Linked DNA regions of Homo sapiens: region 2 is linked to region 1. The links are contacts of gene promoters, found by promoter capture Hi-C in blood cells and fetal thymus (Javierre and others, 2016). All regions are on one chromosome and are shown on one strand. Each heading gives the region's core, a stretch centred on a gene start or on the middle of the fragment in contact. The rest is flanking DNA. Distances are from core to core; before and after follow the strand shown.

Region 1 (5,140 bases), core at 1,268-3,767:
AGGGCTCTGGGGTCCAGGCCTGGCCTGCTGCCGGGGTGCCCTGAGGGTACCCAGGACTGGGTGACAAGGTGAAGTTCTCTAGGCCGAGGGCTGCTGTTCCCGTGCCAAGACCTGGGACCGTTACCCCTGTTGCCGCAGACAGTCCACCGCCCATGGGGCTCACCAGGTCACCTGCCAAGACACATCCACTGTCAGAGCCTGCTGGATCCCACCCACGAGTAAGAGCCCTCCCAGGAGGGCAGCATGGCCGTCCAGCAGGACTGCTCTGCATCCCGGAGTGGACCTGGCCAGGGACGCAGGCGGGCGCCAGCGTTCAGGAGTGTTTCCTGGGCCCATGTTTGCAGCCTCCCCGGGGCTCTCTGAAGGCAAATCACGCCTCTCCACTGGATAAATGAGGAAACTGAAGTTGAGGGTGAGGGATCCACCCGGGGGGCTACAAAACCCGGGCTTGAATGCAGGGCTTGGTTCTCATAGGCCTCAGATTAATCCATCAGGACTCTGGGAAAATGGGACAATTTCCCCCAGATTTGTGCTCAATGTGGGACTTGGTGCTGGATGCTGTCATCGACTTGCAGGACATTAGGCGAATGAGAAAAACAGAAGACAAGGTGTGGGATGTTAGGAAGCAGGACAGCACACGCAGTGTCTAAGGAATATTCTCCCCAGGGAACTGGTCTCGGCTGCTCCTTCCAGCTAGAAAGCCCTCAGCAGGGGCTGGCAAGCCAGTGGCTGGGCGCCTCTGCCACGCCTGTGTCCGGGCCGACATTGCTAATCAGTCACTGCATTTTAGGTCCCTACGTGGCCTCCTCCTGCTGCTCAATTCAGCATCCCAGGTATCCCCGACCCACTCATCAGAACTGGTCCACAGAAAAGACTGGGGGCCGATACAGCAGGACTAGAGCTCAGCGGCCCCCATCGGGCCTCTCTGCAGCTTCTCTGGGCTTCCACACTGTCTCGGGCTCCAGGCCACACCCTCTCGGGCTCCAGGCCACTGGGGAAGGAATCCCTCGACCCCGGGCTGCATCCTGACTTCTGTGGGCCCAAGGAACTTGGCCTTCATGGACCCCTGCACCCCTCCACTTAACAATCTATCAAAAATTACATTTTATAATGGCATTTAGATAGAGATGAGTGTAATCCAAGCTAGATTCATTGTTTTATGTATATTTACTATCCTTCTATTAATTTCTTTCTTCTGATTTTAAAATAAATTGAAATGAAAACATTTCTGTAGGCCCCTAACATTACCATAGGTCCTCAGCCCTGTGCCTATGGAGAATTGGGCTTTGCCCCACCCCCAGATTCTCGGGCAGGGGGTCTTCCCAGAGTCGGCAGGGGGGTCGACACGTACCCTCACAGGCCCGGCCTGCGCGGGAGGGGGTGGCGTCCCTGGTGGTACGGCACTGGCAGGTGTAGGAGCCCTCCAGGTTGATGCACCAGGCAGCCGGTGAGCAGTCGTGTTCCGCGCTGTCCACACACTCGTCCCAGTCTGCCAGGGGGAGACACAATCAAAACCCATGAGAAAACAGCCAAAGAGTGATCAGAAGACAGACCCATGCTGGAAGGAGTCCTTCCTAGCCGTCTTTGCAGTGAACGGCCGGGAGCAGGGGCATTTTGGGGCATCCGTCCAACACTCTCATGACAACCTTACGGCCTGCCTGTGCCCACCTTCACATTGGTTGGCTTATTTGGGGGCAAAGATTAGGAAATGTTCATTCCTTAAATATTAGCACCCATGGGTGTGCATGTAGCCCTCTCTTCTTTATTCTGTTTCCACACCCAAAACTTGAAATGTTTTCTCCTCTCTCTTTGATGTGCCAACATTCTCCAATACTTAGTGTCTCAACCAAGAAATAGGAAAGTAACTGAGCCAGGGGTGGGGACACAGCTGAGTATAACGTGAACTTTCCGCATGGGGGGTGGGGGTCCAGCGGAGTATAACACCAGCTTTCCACGCCGGGGGTGGGGGTCCAGCGGAGTATAACACCAGCTTTCCACGCCGGGGGTGGGGGCCAGTGGAGTATAACATGAGCTTTCCACACCGGGGGTGGGGGTCCAGCTGAGCATAACACCAGCTTTACATGCCAGGAGTGGGGGTCAGCCTGAGTATAACATGGACTTCTCTCGTGGGGGGGGTGGGGGTCAGCCTGAGTACAACATGAACTTCCCACGCCGGGGGTGGGGTCCAGCGGAGTACAACATGAACTTCCCGCGCCATATTCTAGAGCACCCGGGTGTCTCCACAGGTATGTCCCTCCTCCTGTGCCCAAAGACTTGTGATGTCATGTCACCGGGGGGCCCGCCTGAGGGGAATGAAGGTGAGGACAAGGACAATGTAGCTCCCATGGGGTGGCTGAGCCGAGGTCGTCAGGGCCAGGCCCTGCTGGAGGTGACAGTGCCTTCTGCGCGTGCTTCTGTAGAGCTGCGGGTGGAGGTGCTCGGGAACGAACCCACACCCGGCATGCCAGAGAAGTTCCAATTCAGGTGGAATTTAAGCCACGATGCAGGACCAGTTCAGTTCTGGGCAAAGAAAACCCTGCTGCTGAGTGCTCTGAGGCTCGTTTTGTGGGTTTTTTTCTGTTGTGCTTCCTGCGGTCTCCACAGAAGCAGCTTCCCTGGAGAACAGCAAGCTCGTCAGCTGCCACAACAGCTATGCCACCACCCTAGCATGGCCTGGGGGCTGCCTTGCCATCAGAACACTGCTGGTGCCAACCCACACCTCTTCCTGGGGTGCTACTCAACCTCCAGCCTACAGGTAACTCTCCTGGGGGTGCTCCGGGTTGGGGTTGGAGCCTAGGCTGGCTGGGCTGCAGTCCACGGAGGACAGCAGAGGCACCAGGCAAGACGCTGGCTCAAACCACCAAGCACCTGATGTCTATTTTGGGGCGTGGTGATTCACCTAATCTTCACTCCTCCGTCCCCCCAGACAGCTCCCAAGCGAGCTCAGAGGAAGGCGCTGACAGCTGTATTTAGTCTTGCATTAAGCCTTGAGGCTTGCCGGCCCTCCAGTTCAGAGGAAGAGGCAGGTGTGGGAGCAGGAAGAGCTGCCAGTGAGCCTCTGCACCCTCCCGGGCTGGCCAGGCGAGGGCGCAGAGCCAGCGAGAGCCCAGGGCAGGACGCTGCACACTGCTCCCACTGGCCCCGCAGCTGGGACAAGGGCTGAGCCCTCTCCTGGAGCAATGGGGGCAGCTGCTTCAGAGACTCCCAGCCCAGGTGCCCCTCCTGAGCTGGCCCCACCCAGAACAACAAGCTGGAGAGGGTCCAGGAGCAGGTACAGACCCCAGATCTCCTGGGCCACCCTGTCCCAGCAAGGTGCAGGCTCCTCAGTTGGACCATGAGCTGTCTTTCAGGGCCCAGGGCGTCCTCCAGAAGTGATGCCCCTCGGACTCTCCTGGGGGCGTGTGTCAGATTCACACTGGGAGAAAGAGGGCACAGAGCACCTCATCCTAATGCCACCGCAAATGGACGCTGGACAAATAGCGGTACCCGTGAACCTAAGGAAAGGAAGCAGCCTGCAGTAGGTTAGCCTGGCCAGCAGGTGAGGGGGATGGTGACAGCCCTAGGCCAGGATCCTCACTCACGGCCCTTCTCTCACTCTGCAGAGGGGATGGAAAGGGCTCGCGCAGTGGCGAGGCGGGTGGGAGCAGGCAGCAAACTGGAAGCTTTGGGGAGCTCAGCTCCACCTACTCTGGCCCCAGGAAAAGCGGCGTTGATTCCAGAGCCCCAGAAGACCCACAAGGCCTCTTACGCAGAAGGATGCCGGTGGGAGTCCTGCTCCTCTGGCTAAGGTCGGTGCAGAGGGTTCACAGCGGTGCCTCATAGAAGCCCAGTGATGACCCTCACTCTAGAACAAATGCACACTGTATGAGAATCTCTCCTGAGAGCAGATGTTGGGAAAGAGAAGGAATAGGGGCCGTGCTGTTAGGAGCAAGAGATTGAATGGAAATGATGTGAGGGGTTCAAAAAGGAGCCCCGTGAGGCGGAAGGACCAGTGGGAACCCAGGGGTTGCTAGGAGACCTTCCTAGATGAGCTCTCATCCAAGATATGAAAGTTAATCCTGGAAGAGTTAGCCCTGAACGCTGGAGGGGCCATCAGAAATGCACTGTCGCCATGCACAGGCACTGGGCTAAACCCACACAGGCATTGTGCCTTAATTTACTCCATCGCCATAGGAGGTGGGATGTTGCTGTAATCTCATTCCACAGATGAGTATACTGAGGCCCAGGGAGAGGAAGTCATTTGTGCAGCATCCCACAGTGAGTGAGTGTCAGAGCTGGGATTCCAACCCGTTCCGCCTCACTCTAACCTCTTCCTATGGGGCAAAGTGAGCAGGAGGTTTGGCCGCCGCTGTGAGGGTGCAACTCATAGGCGCGGGGGGCGGCTCAGCCTCCAGGCCTCCCAGCACATGGTACGTACCTCCTGGGGAAAGACCGAACACATGGCCACCTACACAGCCCACCGTGACTGGCGCAGGAAACCCCAGGCCCCGGGATGGACGGCCTAAGGGTAAAGATAAGGTCACGACAACCTGACCCCTCCACGGGCGAACAGCGCCTCATCTATCGGGGTTGGGACATGTGGACGCACCGGCAGGGAGTGCTCCTGAATGACTGAGGAATGCTCTAGTTGTGCCAACAACATTATTTCTAGGTGGACCACAGCGCAAATACCTTTTCTTCTTCAGAGGAGCTCTTTTTGTGTTTTCGTTTCTTGTTTTTTTTGCCGAGTAATATCAAATGTCTTCTTCTACAGATCCTCGCCGTGAAGGTGGGGCTCTCAGCGGGGGTGGATGTCCCCCTGTAAGCTGGGCTCAGGCCTCGTGCTGCCTCCCCAGGCAGGGGCGGTGCCCCATGGTTGCTCCCCCGACTCTGGCGTCCGAAGACACCAGTAGTCATGGAGTCAAAAGAGTGCAGAGGCAGGGCCGCCTCCCCGGCCATGCACGGCCTGAGGCGTCACCATCACTGGCCACACAGCTGACCCCCCAGCTCAGGAGACCTGCCCGCACCAGCACCTCAGCTCTGAAATGTGGAGGAAGCAGGCCACAGCCTGCCCGGGACCCTGCCGGGCAAGAGCCTGCAGAAGGAGCTTAATAACTTCTGCAGGACCACTGAACAGCGTGGGGAGTGGGGTGCTGCGAAT
Region 2 (5,323 bases), core at 673-3,172, 220 kb after region 1:
AGTTTCAAAACATGTGAATACTACCAAGTTTCTGTCCCCAAAGTCAGGCATCACTGTTAGTCTTTTGGGACAGATGGGACAGATGTTCACTTTAATGTTTTACTTGAAGTTTTACTGCTCTTTGCCATGTGGTAAAAAGAGGCTGAGACATATTTAAGAATTCCAAGAGGATATTATGTGTCAGAATTTCAGACACTGATGAGAAGTTTTTAATTGTTCTTTTTTATTTGATTTTGGAATTCAGGTGCACTCTATTCAAGTGCAAGGATATCAGAAGTTTTTTTTTATTTAAAAAATTTTTTTTTCGAGATGGAGTTTCACTCTGTTGCCCAGGCTGGAGTGCAATGGCAGCTTACTGCAACCTCCACCTCCTGGTTCAAGCGATTCTCCTGCCTCAGCCTCCCAAGTAGCTGGGATTACAGGCACGCGCCACCACACCTGGCTAATTCTATTTAGTAGAAATGGAGTCTCACCATGTTGGTCAGGCTGGTCTCGAACTCCTGACCTCAGGTGATCCACCCACCTTGGCCTCCCAGCGTGCTGGGATTATAGGCATGAGCCACCAGGCCGGCCCCAGGATTTTATATTAAGCCTTCTTGCTCTCAAAAAAAAAAAAAGGTTTTAACTATTCCATTTCCAGATGAATCCCATGAGCGCTGCTTACTGTTGAATACCAAGGTCTAGGGCTCTGCTTCCTGTAGACACGCACACGTTGTCTCCATCCAATGGCCTTTTCTGAAGTTACAGAAAACACCAACATGGGAGGGAGTTTATGAAGCAAAGGCAAAGGCAACACGTCGGCTAGCTTCAGGGTAGCACCGTGAGAAATGGGCTGTATTGATACTGTGAATGTTTGTTTTCCAAGCTGTTTTATACAGGTTTGTTTTTTCATGGTGTAGGGTATTTATGACAAAGTAAATGTTGTGAAGGTTAAAGATAAATTAAGATTATCCACCAAATGCTAAAAATACTGATGTGTAAATCACCTTTATCGCCTCACCTCTTCTACAAGCTTTTGTGGCTTGAGGGCTTTTGTTTTTGGCTTTTGTCTGGATGAAAGTTTTGCCCAGTTGTGTTTTAAAAACAATTCCTCATGAACACTAAGATTAATTGTGTCTGTATCTCTGGAACTGGGTGCTCATGTTGGTTTTAATGAGCTTGCAACCCTTCCCCGTTTGCTTTGTTTAAGGAGGTGCCTCTGTTCTTTGTGGAGGAGTGAAATGGAGCTTTAAGTGTGTGTGTGTGTTATGTGTGTTTGCACACACGCGTGTGTTATTGTAGCAATAACAAAAAGTAGCCATCTCCTTGTTCCAGCTGAAAACCTGCTGTGAGAGTTTTGACAGAGCACTTTATTTTCGTCAAGTTTCAAGTCTGAGTTCAAAACCAGCCCTGATCCCTTATGACCAACTGCTACTCGACCAGTCGCCACTCAGTGGCCACCTGGTGCCCGTTTAGATTTTTGCTTGGGTTTTACTGGCCACCTCTATAGACGAGAGTTGCAAAGTTGCTTTGAGCAGAGAGGGAAAGATTAATTTACACTGCTGGCCACCGAAGGCAGGTGTTTCCTGGGTAGTAATCTCACGGCTCTTGATCTGGAAACTTCAGAGTACAAATTGGTGGATGGTGGAAGGCAGGACACGTATCTCTGTCTGACGGAAAACAGACCTCGGGGCTGGCGTAAACCCTGCTGCCAGGCCCTCTCCCCACTGCCCCAAACCGGCCTAGACACGAAGACCAAAGCAGCCTGCACAGGGCAAGGCCCCCGCGGAATCCTGCAGAGCAAACTCAGGTTAACTTGGGTCCATGACCGTTTGCATTCGAAACACAATACACTGCCTCGTTCTCTCAGTTAGCAGCTGGGCAGCAGCGCACCATTCATCATTTAGGCTTGTGGTTTGTTGTTTACTCTACCAATGTTATGTCGAAACTGCATTGTAAAAAGAGAAGAAAGTGGCAGGTTTTCCAGGTCCACGGAAAGGTTTGGCCTGACGCTGGAGTGCGGTGATGAACTTACGTGACAATGATTGTATTCCTCAGTAGCACTTTAAACGCCGAAGACAGCCCTGCAGCAAGCCTGCACACGGGCTTGGGTGGGTTCCTTTGGAGAAGATGTGGCTGGAACACAAACAATCTTTGAAAGAAATAAATGTGCACACAGAACACTACACTGAGTTGTTTTTCCCGAGTCCTGTTCTGTCCTGGAAGTCCCAGGGTCTTCTCTGAGCGCCCCTTTCATCAGGTCATCCTTGGACTTCACTGTCCATTCCCCACCCCGGTGGGTGGCCCGGGTGCATGCAGAGGGGACAGGTACCTGGCTCAGCCACAGGTGGAACAGCGTCGGCACTTGCCTGGGGCTCACGGTGGTTCTGGGAGGGAGGCGGTCGAGTCGGGTCACAGACGTGTCCTGCGGGCCCCATGCAGGCATCGTGCCTTCTTTCTAGTCATCAGTTCCCGTGGTCTCCCTCAGTCTTCATTCCCCCTGCGGTGCCCAGACAGCAGAGCACGTGGAGAGCTGGTGTCCTGGAGAAAGCTACTGGACAGGCCCAGCCTCCTGTCCCCACACTGCCCACCCCTCCTCTCAGCTGTCCCGCCCGCTCGCTAGACACCGTGTAGACCCTTAGAGGGAGCCCGATGCTTCCCAGCTGGGTTCCAGGTTTTCTGCTCCATTTCCTGGGCACCACAAGGTGGTGATGGCAGTGCCTCTTGTTTGGAGTTAGAAGTGGTTCAGGACCCAGTGATTGAACTGTTGCTTCCTCTGTGTGGCCAGAGGGACCCACTTTGTGCTGATGCTCCAGGAGGAGGCTGGATTGAGTTGCTGGAGGCCAAGCTTGTCCTAATTTACCAACTTTCCTAAGCTGATCACCTCCAGATGAGCACTGTTTGCCAATGCGTCTCCACTGCCCAAATTAATCCAACTCAACCACCCTCGGTCATTCTGGAGTGTGCATCCTCGTGCCCAGCAGTTCACACTCACTCTTCGAATGGTCTAACCCAACTCAAGCCCTGCCTTCCCCACGAAGGAGCTTCTCTGCAGGCTGCGGAATTGGCGTGCTTGCAGCGGCACGGTCCAGGCCTCCGGCTCTCAGGCTTCACTGTCCTGCATTGCTCTCATTTCCTGTATCCCCCGGGGCTTCGTACAGTCACTGCCCACCTAGCAGAGCAAGGACAAAGGTCAGCTGATGACCCTTACGTGAGCACAGACAGCAGCTTTGCTTCCACCCACCTCACCCTCCATCGCCCAGGACCTGGTGCTGGGGACTGAGCAGGACACTGGAGGGGATGACCACATGCTGTTTTGACCTTAGCACCCCTACAAAGACAGGGTGATGTGTGTATATGTCAATAAAGTTTATTTTTAAAATGCAGATCACTCACCAAAGGGGGCTAGACACCAGGATGGCTGACATAGCACAGTGATCCCCCTAGAGAGAAAGCTGCCAAGGCCAGGCCCTCCTTCCCAATCATGACCTAGAAACAGCTTTCCTCCACTGGCCTTCCCCAGCTCCACACTGTGACTGTCCACAGTGGAAACTGCGAGTCACGCCCTGCTGTAACAGGCATTCAAAACTAGTTGCCTATGTATTTATAGGTCTATATTAATGTCATCGATATTTATAAAGTTGGACGTGCAGGTACGTTGGGCACCTTAATAGAAGGGTTATCAGCTGGTGATCATCATTGCTGTACCAGGTGAAGCACTGGACTAAGCCCAGGGGATGTATTAATTTATAGTCTAGCTCGGTAGCAAGCATAGCTTTTATATAATAGGCCGGGCGCGGTGGCTCACGCCTGTAATTCCAGCACTTTGGGAGGCCAAGGCGGGCGGAACACCTGAGGTCAGGAGTTCAAGACCAGTCTGGCCAACACGGTGAAACCCTGTCTCTACCAAAAATACAAAAATTAGCTGGGCCTGGTGGCGCATGCCTGTAATCCCAGCTACTTGGGAGGCTGAGGCAGGAGAATCGCTTGAACCTGGGAGGCGGAGGTTGCAGTGAGCTGAGATCACACACTCCAGCCTGGACAACAGAGTGAGACTCCATCTCAATAAAATAAATAAAGTTAGAGAAAGACTTGAGATCACAACAATAGCTAATAATAATTGCACACTCAATATGTGCCAAGAATTTTTCAAATAGTTTTATATGTAGTGACTCATATACTCTCTGAAACAACTCCATGGGGCATGATCTATTTCAGCTTTACAGGTTAAGAAACTGAGGCACAGAGAGGTTAAGTAACTTGCCCAAGCTGACAGCTGGCTAGACCAGAATTTGAGCACTGGCTGTTTGCCTGGAGAACCTCTGCTCACAGCCGTGAGTCTCTGGCTCTGCCTGTGTCGATTGGAGAGATTAAGGACTATGGTCCTATATGTTTTTTTGTTTTGTTTTGTTTTGAGAAGGAGTCTCGCTCTCGTCATCCAGGCTGGAGTGTAATGGCGTGATCTCGACTCACTGCAACCTCCGCCTCCCAGGTTCAAGTGATTCTCCTGCCTCAGCCTCCCGAGTAGCTGGGATTACAGGCACCCGCCACCATGCCCGGCTAATTTTTGTATTTTTAGTAGAGATGGGGTTTCACCACATTGGCCAGGCTGGTCTCAAACTCCTGACCTCAAATGATCCACCAGCCTTGGCCTCTCAAAGTGCTGGAATTACAGGCGTGAGCCACCGCACCTGGCCAAAAATTTTTAACAATTTTATATGTAAAAAAACTGGTGTAGCGGTGTCAGGCATATGATACATTTCATTTGTTGAGTTAAACAAATGTTTAAAAACCACCAAAGACTAGCATGAGGAAAAGGCTGGTCTCCTTCCCTGGAACCAGGATAAATCACTGAGGAAGTCAGAGGCAGGGCCAAGACTAAAATTCAAGTCACACAACAGCACTCCATGGAAAATCTACATACTCCTATGATAAAGTTCTACTAGACAGTCCAGATACATCATCCCCTAATTTGTGGGTATGTAAGCAAATGTGAAGCATGTCTCTAACCTGGTCATTCACTGTGCTATAAGGCCCACTGCCAGTGAATAAGTTCAGCAGTTACTCTTCAAGGATATATGGTCTTTTTTGAACTTTAATGCTGCCTGTTTTGGGTGAGAATAACATGAAGTGAGAGTCAATGTTTCATATTTAGTAGGAATTAACTTATTCGCTGATGATCAGACTTCCCTCTTTATGAGAAAAATTAGCCAATTTTTTTTTTCTTAAAAGCTGGAGGTGGCTGGAGAGGTGGTTGAGGATGTCTATCATGCTTTGCACAGCAGTAGGTTTGTATTTGAATTATAACAAAACCAGAGCCCAGGAGACGTGCTAATTGGAAAAG

What was found. Contacts are between HindIII fragments. The CHiCAGO score rates a contact against its expected background, and 5 or more counts as called.
Region 2: a contact is called between a fragment that was not itself captured here and the fragment with the promoter of UMODL1-AS1 in region 1, in 9 of 17 cell types (M0 macrophages, naive CD4 T cells, M2 macrophages and 6 more). The highest score is 12.1, in M0 macrophages.

What each region holds. Positions count from the first base shown.
Region 1 is chr21:42,105,911-42,111,050 of GRCh38, reverse strand. UMODL1-AS1 (UMODL1 antisense RNA 1) reads left to right here and starts at 2,517. Exons shown (of 2, transcript NR_027243.1): 1 at 2,517-2,755. UMODL1 (uromodulin like 1) reads right to left here. Exons shown (of 23, transcript NM_001004416.3): 10 at 1,352-1,489; 11 at 1-171. RefSeq lists a silencer at 2,978-3,272 and an enhancer at 3,249-3,368. The HindIII fragment of the contact is 14,881 bases long and covers 1-3,664 here.
Region 2 is chr21:41,881,954-41,887,276 of GRCh38, reverse strand. It overlaps C2CD2 (C2 calcium dependent domain containing 2), which reads left to right. Exons shown (of 14, transcript NM_015500.2): 14 at 1-2,165. Among named protein-coding and RNA genes, the nearest start is that of PRDM15, 5.3 kb to the right of the region's middle. RefSeq lists an enhancer at 1,633-1,682. The HindIII fragment of the contact is 1,815 bases long and covers 1,015-2,829 here.